2 separate regions of the Homo sapiens genome follow, and region 1 is linked to region 2. The links are contacts of gene promoters, found by promoter capture Hi-C in human tissues and cell types (Jung and others, 2019). All regions are on one chromosome and are shown on one strand. Each heading gives the region's core, a stretch centred on a gene start or on the middle of the fragment in contact. The rest is flanking DNA. Distances are from core to core; before and after follow the strand shown. Region 1 overlaps MAN2A1 (mannosidase alpha class 2A member 1). Region 2 holds the start of FBXL17 (F-box and leucine rich repeat protein 17).

Region 1 (5,574 bases), core at 1,214-3,713, 1.4 Mb after region 2:
CCTTCTGAGTGAGAACAGCTTTTTTGGCATTGGAAAATATTCTGGAATACAGGCTTGATCGTGAACAGTATCATTTTGCTTGAAGGAAAAATGGTTTTATAGCCAGATTAGTGCAGATGAATTCTGTTTCTGGTCAAGATTTGCTAAAGTTCTCTCTCTTCTAGCTGTAATAATTCACTTTTATTCACTTATTACATTTGTTTTTAGAACTAGGGTAATAGCATTCCCCCCCACTTACTTGAACAAAACATTCTTAGTGTTAGTTGCTTAAATGTATGTTTTTGGAGGAAAACTTAATAGATATTTAAGTTTGCTCCTGTTATTTAAATTCTGAGCTTGTACTAAGTGGCATTACTAATAGATTTTTTTGTGTGACTTCTAGTGTAATGCTTATGCAGTGGCTTTTCTCTTTTTGAAGATGAGCTATGGATTAAATCTGTACCTAAATTTGCAAGCTAGCTGTTGCAGAGCAGAACCTGTTAATTCCAGCAGAGTTCCACGTAAGCTTTCATTGTCCCTGAAGAATACCAATTGATTGTGGGAACTTAACAGAAACAAAACTCAAATGATCCTTATAATCTATTCTAGCAGTGACTTGTTTGATTCTTATCCCCTCCCCCAGCAGCATTATTATTCAACTCTATAAGCTTTTAAAAGTGAAAATCTAGTTAACTAAAGAGAGATCTACGTAAACAACATCTATATTTTCTGTTTTTTTGTGTGATCTGAAATAATTTAATCAATTATAATCATAGTACCTACTGGTAATACATATCCAGTGGATTTAAAAGAAGCTGCCTTCCATTAAATAATCAGTGTATTGTTTTCTATGCTTGTTTTATTTTGAAAATGACTGGTGGTGTAATTTTTTAAAACTTTTTAGGCTTCACATTTGAATATTTTTTGGCTAAATGCAGTTAAATACTGCATGATGTTTATAATACATCAAAATGTGAACCCTTATTGAGAGTCAGGCAGCTGAAACATTAGCCTTAGCATTTCCTTTGACTAGCACACAGCATGTTACATATTCATTGTTCCTCTCTGGGCTCTGAGATATTGGAACAGCTTTTATATTGCATCTGCTCTTGCTATTGAGACCAGTGTTGAGTGGAGAAACCCACGAATTATTAGAACCTAAGAACAGTTTATATATTCACCAAAGTCTTGACCAGTTTCTCTTTGTGGATCTTTTAGTGTGAAAAGGGGCTCCAAATGTGTGCTGAGATGAAGGTACCATCAGTTAGTATAGATTTTTTATCTTCACCAAATTGGTGGGTTTCATTGCTTTAGCAAGAATGCAAACTCTTTATTTATATAATCTTTGTACTATCTTCTTACAATTTTTCCCCTAGGTTTATATTTAAGTGAACCTTCCACTGTCTTCTCAACTATCTCTGCTTGCTTCTTGAAATCAGAGAAATATTTGATGTTACATTTTTAAATAAGAATCCAAACTTAACTAATGTGCATCTTGGGTTTTCTAAGAAATTGGACTATTAATCTTCCTAAACAGACTAATTCATTATACGTTTTATACAGGTTGGATTTTATGGTATTTAACTGAAGGTTGCTGTAAAATTTATAGAGCAATGGGAAGTTACAGTGTGTCTTGTGATATTCAGAGTCATTTGCAGATTTGGATTGAGTTTAGAATCTAAAGATATTTAGCATTTCATCAAAGCACTGAAAGCAATGCACCAGGGTCTAAAATAACTTTAGTTCTAATAGTTGAAGCAGTGGTTTACGTTTATTTTAGAAAGCATATGTTCTATCCCTACCTTTTCAATTCCAGTTCGTCTTGAGTGAGACGGCTATCCTTCCACCTCTCATTCCCTTCAACCACTGGCATCTATTTATGTCATGGAGACCTGTAAAAGCCATGAGGGACTTCTCAGGTGCTCTGCCCATCCCTTGGATACTTTCTCAAGCCTCAGAGAGGATTTTTTTGCAGCATTGACATCGATCACTCCATTCTCCTCGAAATTCTGTCCTCTTTTGGCTTTGAAGTGACCTTGAGCTCTTTCACTTTCGGGTCTATTCTGGCACTGCTGACCATTCATTTTTCATCACCTCTCTGATTTCCTCTTCTGCTTACTTCCCCAATGTTCCTGTTCTCGCCTGTTGGGGAACACTGCTTAGTTTTCTTCATTTTGCATGCTTTTCCACACTGTTGTTTTAATTACCAGGCATTTGGACTACTTCCAGATCTAAAGATCCAACCTGGACTTCTTGTTCTCTAGTTAGTGGCAATAGTAAGAGATAAGCACTCGTTTAATTATTCAGCCAATCCTGTAGCATTCTCTTGAGTTAAGGTTCTTTATCATCTTCATTCTCCTGTTGAGGAATCTGAAGCAGAGGTGTTAAGGAAAGTGCCTAAGGTCACCCAGCTAGTAAGTGTGGAAATAGGACCCAAGCCAGGCAGTCTTGCCCCAGAAATAGTGGGCAAATAATCTTCACCTCTGTGGTGCTCTGCCTTTCCACCTCCCTTTCCTGTGACATCCAGTTAGTCCCTAAACTCTGTGACTTCTGCCTCTTCAGTGTCTCCAGACTCTGACCCCTGCTTTTCGTCTCCATTGCTCTTGTCTCGTACTATTGTGAAAACCTCCAAATGGCCTTTCCATTTCCAGCTGTGCCACTTCTAAGTGTCTGCCATTTCATCAACAGAGTTAGTTTTCTAATATGTGAGTCCCACCATGTTTGCTTTAAAATGCTTTGTGGTGCTTCAGTCTCAAAAGGCACAGGCCACTATCCTTTGCCTGACACATACTGACTTTTTCTGTCTGATTCCTCCCGACTTGCTCATCCTTATCTCCAGTCACTTCCTGCTTCACACTCTACTCAGGCATTCTGAGCCACGGGTGTCCTCAGACACATGCCGTTTTGTGCTTCTTAGGAATTTGCCTGTGTTCAGCTTGGATTTTTATTTTTTTCCTTTTGTGCAGTGGATAATTTCAGTCTTACTCATTTTTAACACTCAGCTGAAATATTACCTCATCTCTGAAACCTTCCCTTATTTACTTCTACCATTCATTCAGCAAATATTTATTGTGTTATGCTCCAGAAATGTAGGAGGTAAGCAAGACTGACCTGGTCCCAGCCCTCAGAAAACAGCAGGGAAGACATGTAATTAAACACAGTATAATAATAAAGGGTTTTCTTCTATAGAGGCAAGAAGGGGGTCTTGGAAGGCCTCCTGAAGCAAATGATATTCAAGCTTAAACCTGAATGATGACTAGAACTAGCCAGTCAAGAAGTGGGTGTCAGAGGGCAGAGAAGGAATTTTAGGTTGTGAGAAGAGAATGGTGATTATGGGCCAGGGATTAACAAGGGCATGTTTGAACATCTGAAAGATGTTTATTAGACAGCAGCAGTTGGGGAGGGTGGGCAGCGAGGGTGTGTGTGTAGAAGCTGGGTAAATCTTGGCCATCAGGGAGATACATATCAAAACTTCTAGAAGATACTGTTTCCAACCCTTTTAGAATGGCTAAAATAAAAAAGATGACAACGTCAAAAGTTGGCAAGAATGTGTAGCAACAGAAACTCATATGTTGCGGGTGGGAATGCAAAATGGGGGCGACTTTCTGAAAAGCCTCCAAAGAGTTTTCCAAACTTAAAATATATACCATGTGATCTGGGGGCTCCACTCCTAGCAATTTACCCAAGAGAAATGAAAAAATGTTCACAAAAAGACTTGTACAGACATTTTCATACAGGCTTTTTCCTAGTAACTTCAAACTGCAAGCAGTTTAAATGTCCTTCAGCAGGTGATGGATTAAAAAATTGTTGTATATTCATACAACAGAATACCTAGCAGTAAAAAAATGATAAATTACTGAAATACACAGTAATATGGATGAGTCTCACAAATGTTCAGCAGAAGAAGAGAGACAGAAGAGTAAATATTGTTTGATTTCCATTTTATGAATTCTGAGAGGAGACTCAACTGATCTATTGTGATAGAAATGGAATGTCAGAGTGTTTTTTGGGGGCAGGGTGAGTGGGCGAGCATGGATTGGAACGGGGCATGAGGGAACTCTCTGAATTGGTGGAAGTAGTCTATATTATTTTGGATAGTGATTACAGTTGTCACAATTCATGAGACTGAAAATATGTGTATTGTATATTGTTATATCTCAATTAAAATATTTTAGAAAATGTAATACAATATAAACATACAATACAATAAATACAATAATATAATACAATACAGTAAACATAATGATATATGTCTCTCTTGATATGGAAAGATGCTCATGGTATAATGTTAAGTAAATTAACTTGGTTAAAAACTCTGGCTCCCATAACCCTTTGTGCATATATATCAAGGTAGTGAGTTTTTAAATTTTATTCTTTAACGTCTTTCACATTTTTCAACTTATTTTGAATGAGTATTTTATGAATAAAGTATTGTTTACTATACAGTGAAAGATTTAAAGTACATCCCCTGCTTATTAAAACTTTGCAGAAATTATTGAACCATATGAGAAATTTATTTTTATTTCTATTAAATTAAATTAATTAATTAATTTTAGAGACAGGGTCTTTGTCACTCAGGCTGGAGTGCAGTGGTACTATCATAGCTCACTGCAACCTCAAACTCCGGGCTCAAGTGATACTCTACCTCAGACTCCTGAGTAGCTAGGATCTACAGGTGCAGGCCACCATGCCTAGCCAATTTTTATAATTTTGTAGAGATAGGTTTTACTATATTTCACAGGCTGGTCCTCAAACCCCTGGCCTGAGGTGATCCTCCTGCATTGGTCTCCCAAAGCACAGGGATTATAGGTGTGAGCCACTGCACTTGGTCCCAAGACATTTTTAAATAAATTTTCATGACTATTTTTAAGCTACAGTTCTGTTACTTTTTTTTGTTTGTTTTGTTTTGAGACAGATCTTTACTCTGTTGCCTAGGCTGAGTGCAGTATTGCAGTCTTGGCTCACTGCCACCTCTGCCTCCCAGGTTCAAGCAGTTCTCGTGCCTCAGCCTCCCGAGTAGCTGGGATTACAGGCATGTGCCGCCACACCCAGCTAATTTTTGTATTTTTTGTGGAGATGGGGTTTCGCCATGTTGGCCAGGCTGGTCTTGAACTCCTGACCTCAAGTGATCTGGCAGCCTTGGCTTCCCAAAGTGCTGAGATTACAGATGTGAACCACCGCGTCTGGCCTCAGTTTTGTTAGTTTTCAGTGCTTAGGAGACACAGGTTATAGCATTTATAGTTCAGAAAAAAATTTAGTTTAATTTACTTTTTAATATATGCCCCAATATATACAAAGGATACACAATGAAAAGTAAGGTACTCAGCCACTCCTGTCTCCTTGTCATTTTGCTCTTTTCACAGGAGGTAACTACTATGACCAGGCTCTTATTTATTTTATGGATGTATGGGAAAACATATGCACATGTACATAAAGGCATAGGCATATATATTATACAATGATAGCATGCCATGCACATTGTGCTGGTTTTTTTTTTTTTTTTTTGAGTGGGTCTATTTTTTAAATTGTAAATAAGCATAACATAAAATTTACTATTTTAACAATTTTTAAGTGTACAGTAGCATTACAACATTT
Region 2 (6,130 bases), core at 1,660-4,159:
TCATGAAATAATTTGTAAGTAGAAGGTACCTGGCTTTGTTTTGGTTCATTTTGAAACAGTCTTATTTGCCAAATAAGAAGACAGCAATCAAGTTTCTATACCAAATATTTGTTGATATTTTATTTATCCATATCACCCAGTGATTTAAAGGACTCAAGAAAGTTCCCTTTGTCCTAAAATGCACCTCTGCACACAAAGAGTAGGCAATTACTCTTCCAACAAGTAGACCTCCATAAGAATTAGATCATTACATTTTGACACAAGGAAATGTAAGTTTTCCCACCCTCTTGCTGTATCACTCACAAGAACAATAATATCACTGTAAAACAGACCCAAACACACAGTACTGTAAATATGCAAAAAGTCTAGTCAAAGAAACTATATTGGTGACAATAACAATTGTAATTAATGACAGTTACTTCAGTAACGGTAAAAGTAGCCAAATTCTTATCAAGGTTATTTATGGCTAGTCTCTAGTATCATCCACAATGAAAATGGTTTATATTTATTAAGCTCCAAATAGGGTAGGGTGGGAGAAGAGAGAAAAGGAGGGAAAAAGTTAATAATAACTTAATAAAAACTCTATTATGTAACTAAAGTTTGTCACTAGCATTGACAAAACTGCAAAATATTCTTGGTAGTTGAAAATGACACAAACTTCATGCAGGACACCCATCTCCCAACAAAAAATACATCTGTGCTTACCTCTGGTAATCTGTATGCTTTTATGCAAGGGTTAAAATGTAGAAGGGCATTACAACATAGCATAAACAAAGAGGTTTTTAAGTCAGGTGGTCTTAAATTCCCTCATTCAAGACCTAGATCTACCCTTTACTTTCTGTATGTGACCTTGCACAAGTCATTCAACCACTTCAAGCCCCACTAGACTGTCAGCTCCACAGGAGCAAAGACCACTTCTGCCTGACTCACTACTATAAACCGTGGCCCACAGCACGGAGAAATCAGTTTCTTCCTGTATAAAATAAAGATATTAACAGTATTTATCTCGAAGCGTTAACTAGATAAATGGGATATTATATATATAAAGTCTGGCGCAGTGCCTGATTATGGTAAATGCTCAGTAAGTTAACCGTTTGACATTAACTACCAGCCATCAAACATGAAAGTAATGTTTAAAGACTTTCAAACACCAACATGCAAAGCCTTTACCCACTAAGTATAAATTCCTCGATTAAAAAATTTTTTTTTCCACAGAATACCTGCGAAGTTTCTAAACCACTGGGTTGGGATTCTAATAATAGCTGAACCCTGAATGGTGGGTTATAGAGTCAAGCTATTAAAAGACATTCAGTAGACTCCAAGTGCTCCTACTTCAAAAAATAGGCCATAGGCAGAGGCCCCACTGGCTTCCCAGTCTCCCCTTGGGACGTCCCTAGGCTGCCAGGGAACCCCCCTCCTCCGCGCTTAGGGGGAGGAGAGAGAAAGCCTCGGAGGCGGGGGCCGGGGGTGGGGGAAAGCGAGCATCCCTGCGCCTCTCGCCCAGACCCACCTTGAGCAGGATGGACGGCGGCAGCTGGTTGATGTCTGGGGTTTCGGGGGGCGGCTCCCTGTGACAGTCGCAGGGGTTTTCGGGGGACTCCCGACAGTCCGCGTCGCCACATTCATGCTGCTGCTGGGCGGACAAGGGGGCGGTGCCCCCGGCTCGGACAGCGTCCCCGCCAGCTTCGGTGGGGGCACCTTCGGAGGTGGGAGAAGAGGGCGGAGGGCAGAGCGGCTGCGGGGGCTGCTCCGGGGCCTGGCAGCAGCCGGCGTCGGGGGGCCGGGGCGGCGAAGCGCCTCCCCCCGCAGGCCCTCCCCCGCCACCGCCGCCGCCGCCGCCGCCGCAGCCCCCGCCGCCGCAGCGGGGCTGCTTGCAGGGGGTGCAGGCGGGGACCCCGGCCCCCTTCCGCTTGCACACCATTTCGGGGGGCGTAGGGAGCTCGGCCGGTGACGGTGTCGGCCCCCGGAAGAGCTGCACGGCGGCGGGCGGCCCCAGGAAGCGCACCGGCCCCAAGCTGGCCAGGAAGAGACTTCGGCCCTGCTGCTCCCAGGCGGCGGCCGCAGCCAGCCCCAACTCTTTGCAGCAGGAGGCGGGCGACGAAGCCGAGGCGGCAGCGGCGGCGGCGGCGGCGGCCGAGGATAGCAGGAAGCGGCGGGCAGCAGCGGCGCAGTCCTCGGCGGCCAGGGCCGCGTAGCGCCGCGCCAGGTGCTGAGAGGAGGAGGCGGCAGCGTAGGCCCCGTCCCGCGGCGGCGGCGAGAGCGGCGGCTCCTCCTCTGGGCCGGCGGGGGCGGGCGCGCCGGGACTGTGCACGATGAAGCAGAGCATGCAGGGCCCGCGGAAGAAGCAGTCCCGGCTCCGGGGCGCCGCCGGCTGAGGGGGCACCTTGGCTGGGGTCCGGCGGGGCAGCCTGAGGAGAGGGCGCCGGCGGCGGCACCAACTGCAACAGCGAGGCCTCTTCTGGCTCGGGCGGTTACGCGGCTCCTTCGAGAGAAGGTGGCCCATATAGAAGGCCCCGAGGAGGGGGACCGGGACGGGAGGGAGGGAGACCCAGAGAGGCGGGCTCCCGGCAGCGGGGCAGGCCGCTCGCTGGCTCGGCCCCCGGAGGGGTCGCCCTTCCTGCGCACACACACGCACACACGGGCACACACGCGACGGTGGGGGGTGGGCGTCAGCTGCGGGCCGCCGGAGTGCCCGACGGGGGCTACATGCTTTGCCCAGGGAAGCCGGGAGAACGATGGGCGCGAGCTTTGGGGACGCGAGGGAGGGAGCGAGCGAGCCTGCCGGCTAGGCGACCAGTCCGGGCCCGGCCAGCCGGCTCAGTCAGTCAGCGGAGCGGCCGGGGAAAGGCCGGGTCCCGCTCGGACCATTTTAACTGCGGATCCGCCGCCGGCGCGCGCACCCGCGACTCTGCTCGGAGCCGCAGGAGCGCGCGGCCCGTTCCGGCAGGGGGCGGAGCCAGTTGCGGTGGCGCGCTCGTGGCGGGGACGCCGGCACCCGGCTGCTCACCCGGGACGGCCGTCACACCGGCACTACGGGAAGAAGCCGGCCGGCTAGGGCACGGAGCTCTGGGCTTGCGGGGTGCGGCGCACGCCCCTCCCTCCCACCGCCTAAGGTTTTTCCGAAGCTGCTGGGCGTGCGCCGCGTTTCTGAGGCGGGAGGAGACACTTCCGAGCCAGCTGTGTGACATCCGTTTACACAGCCGCGCTGACGTCTCGAGGTGTAAGTTCAAGAGCTGCCATTGGCCGGGAGCCGCTGGGCTCTTCCCCTCACCTTCCACCCCTGTCACCACCCCTGACTCGGAAACCGAGGCCACTTCGAAGCCGCGAGGCGGGTTCCGCCGGAAGGGCCAGTGTGGGCGCTGACCGCGCTTCGGGCAGAGTGGCAGATGCGGCCCCTGGGTGATGCGCACCGAAGTCATGTGAGGGGTTGATTGGTTGTGCGGCACCACTGTTTACCCACTTGTGTTTTCTTAATTGTTGCGTACTACTGCCTTTCCACAACTTTATTTCAGAATGAAAGCATATATCAAATTACCTGTGCACAGCAGAAAGATAACAGCTTCCCCACCCAGTGAGCCATTCAACACCCAGGCTACAAACTGTAGATCACTTTATTGTCTACACCCTCGGAATCCTGTCTAGCCGTCTGTTGTATATTTTAAACATGACGGTGCAGTGCCTGCTATATGACAAACGTTGGTGATCCAGATGAGAAAGAGGAAACAGCTATGCAGGCAGTCCTTTAGAAGGTTTGACTATATCGAGGCTAAAGAGCTAGGGCAGCTGCTAGAGCGGTACCTGGTGCGGAGAGGTTAGCTTTCACAAGCGAAAAATTAGAGGAGGCAAATACCATGGGAATGAGCCACTCTAGTGAGAGAAATAAGAGGAGAAGGTGGAATGGAGAGTGCTTTAGGAAGGATACTTTCTTCATTGTGATTACAGAGAATGAGGAAAGGTAGATAAAGGACGGATACAGAGAGGTGGATGTTTCTAGCAGGAAGGTGAAAGAGTTCCTTTCTGTTGGTTTCTGTTTTGCTTCAGATAGAGCTTGGTTACCTGCTGAAGGGTGGAAGAGAAGTGGCAGGTGTTTAAAAAAAAATCTGCTAAGGATAACTTGAGAGAGCTGACTGAGGAAGAAGTATTGCAATATTCAAGGCCCAGTGGCTTGGAGAAGACCACTGTTGGAACCTACATTGCTATTCCCACTATAGTGGCCAGCCCCACCCAGCCTGCTCTCAAACATGCTGTCAAACAATTGTTAATTCTGGCCTTTTTGTCAGAAATGACCAATCTTAAGTCTGTCACATTCAGGGATCCTTTCAGAGCCTAATGACAGTTATGTGGAATTCTAGAAGCAAATATTTGTCAAAAGATTTCACAGACATACACGCTATTCACTATCAAATGCATTGCCTGAACGACATTTACGTACACATATAATCCACATAACTTTCATCCATTTGCCTGTAGGAGAATCTTCCAGGGCCCCAGAGCAGTGCTTGAGGACTTATTACAGATCCTTTGACATCTCTACTAGGCTGCACTTTCACAAAAGGCAAGAGTATTATAAAGTGTTTTGTAACTTTATGTCAAAAATATGAACCTGTCAGAGCCAGATGTGGTGGTACCTATCATTCAAACTACAACAGGGCTGGTGAGGCGTGAGGATCGCTTAAGCCCAGCTTGTTATGATTATGCATGTGAATAGCCACCGTAGTCCATCTTGAGCAGCGTAGCGAAACACAGTCTCTTAAAAAAAATTGCGACCTATACATTTCATATAAGTTAAATACACATCTTCCCTATGAGCCAGCAATCCCACATCTAGGTATTTATCCAGAGAAATAAAAGCATATATCGATAAAAAGACATGTACAAAAATGTCCGTAACAACTTTATTCATGGTCACCAAAAACTATAAACTGCCCAGATGTCCATCAGTGGGAGAACGGATTAATAAACTGATATATTCATCTAATTAAATACTACTCAGCAACACAAGAGAAAAAGCATGGATGAATCTCAAAAAGTTAGGATGTTTTATGCTTTCTGGATACGGGGCCCTCGAATCGCTACCTGGTAACAGGCTCCCTATGTGATTCCTGTACAGACAGCCTGGCACCATGCAAATGTATCAGAACTACACATACCATCCAACTTCAACTTCTTGTTTTTAGAGATGAAGCAACTGACTCTGAGAGTTCTGAAGTCGTTGCTAAAATTTACAATATTTGTTTCCTTACTCCCAGTTCCTAAACCATTCAACCACAAGCAAATTGTCTTTGGTCTACCTATTGGACTCTGTGCTGACAAAAGATACTTGTTTTTTTATAATTTAGATATTTTGCATGTCTGTTCTCATCACCCACCATCATCACACCACTAGTTCTCCCCAGAAAAAATTTCAGATTCTTTGAGGCTTAGGATTATCTCTAACCCTTCTTTTTATTTCTTTACCACAGCAAATAGCAGAGAGAGTCTTGTATAGTTCATCAGTGATTAAATAAGCTACTACTATTATCAGGAGAGCTGTAATGAGTTTTGGAACTCAGTACCCTAAATAATAATACTAATGTTGTAAATGTTAAAGATACAGAATTATGAATAAGAGTCATAAATTAGAATTATAGAGACAGTTGTAGCAGCTGATGGCTTTGCTAGTTGGGGGGCAGAGAGGGTGGAGTTGCAGTGGAAACCAACTCCGGACAGCCAGGAGCTGGACTGGCACTATTAGCTAGGCATTTGTGGTACTGGCAGCTGTCCTGGCATTCTCAGTTCTCATTGTTTTGTCAAATATAAACAGTCCCACAAAACATCAACATCAGTTATAGTCATTTTATGACTACAATAGGCAAGACAAAAATAAGACCCCTCCACAATCATGTCTGAACACAGCAAATACAAGAACAGTCTCTAAACCACAAAAATGACCAAACATTCTGGTTAATATAAGTGACCACTGTTTCTTGGCCAATTACAGGCTTAGCCTTGATCCATTCTTCCTGCCTTCTAGATAGCAAATATTAAAATATTAAGTTATAGGATCACCTGTTTCCTGCCAGCATCCAATCCAGAGCAAAACCTTGACACTTCCCCAAAATCACCTAACAACACACTCATTCCTGTAATG

Evidence for each region. Contacts are between HindIII fragments. The study calls those that stand out against the background at their distance.
Region 1: a fragment that was not itself captured here is called in contact with the fragment with the promoter of FBXL17 in region 2 in 1 of the 25 tissues and cell types used here (lymphoblastoid cells).

The regions. Positions count from the first base shown.
Region 1 is chr5:109,741,107-109,746,680 of GRCh38, forward strand. All of the region lies in intron 4 of MAN2A1 (mannosidase alpha class 2A member 1), which reads left to right. Among named protein-coding and RNA genes, the nearest start is that of MAN2A1-DT, 53 kb to the left of the region's middle. The HindIII fragment of the contact is 6,334 bases long and covers 1-5,574 here.
Region 2 is chr5:108,379,189-108,385,318 of GRCh38, forward strand. It overlaps FBXL17 (F-box and leucine rich repeat protein 17), which reads right to left and starts at 2,910. Exons shown (of 9, transcript NM_001163315.3): 1 at 1,511-2,910. The coding sequence starts at 2,503. RefSeq lists silencers at 1,761-1,840, 1,861-2,610, 2,811-3,060 and an enhancer at 3,161-3,280. The HindIII fragment of the contact is 17,757 bases long and covers 1-6,130 here.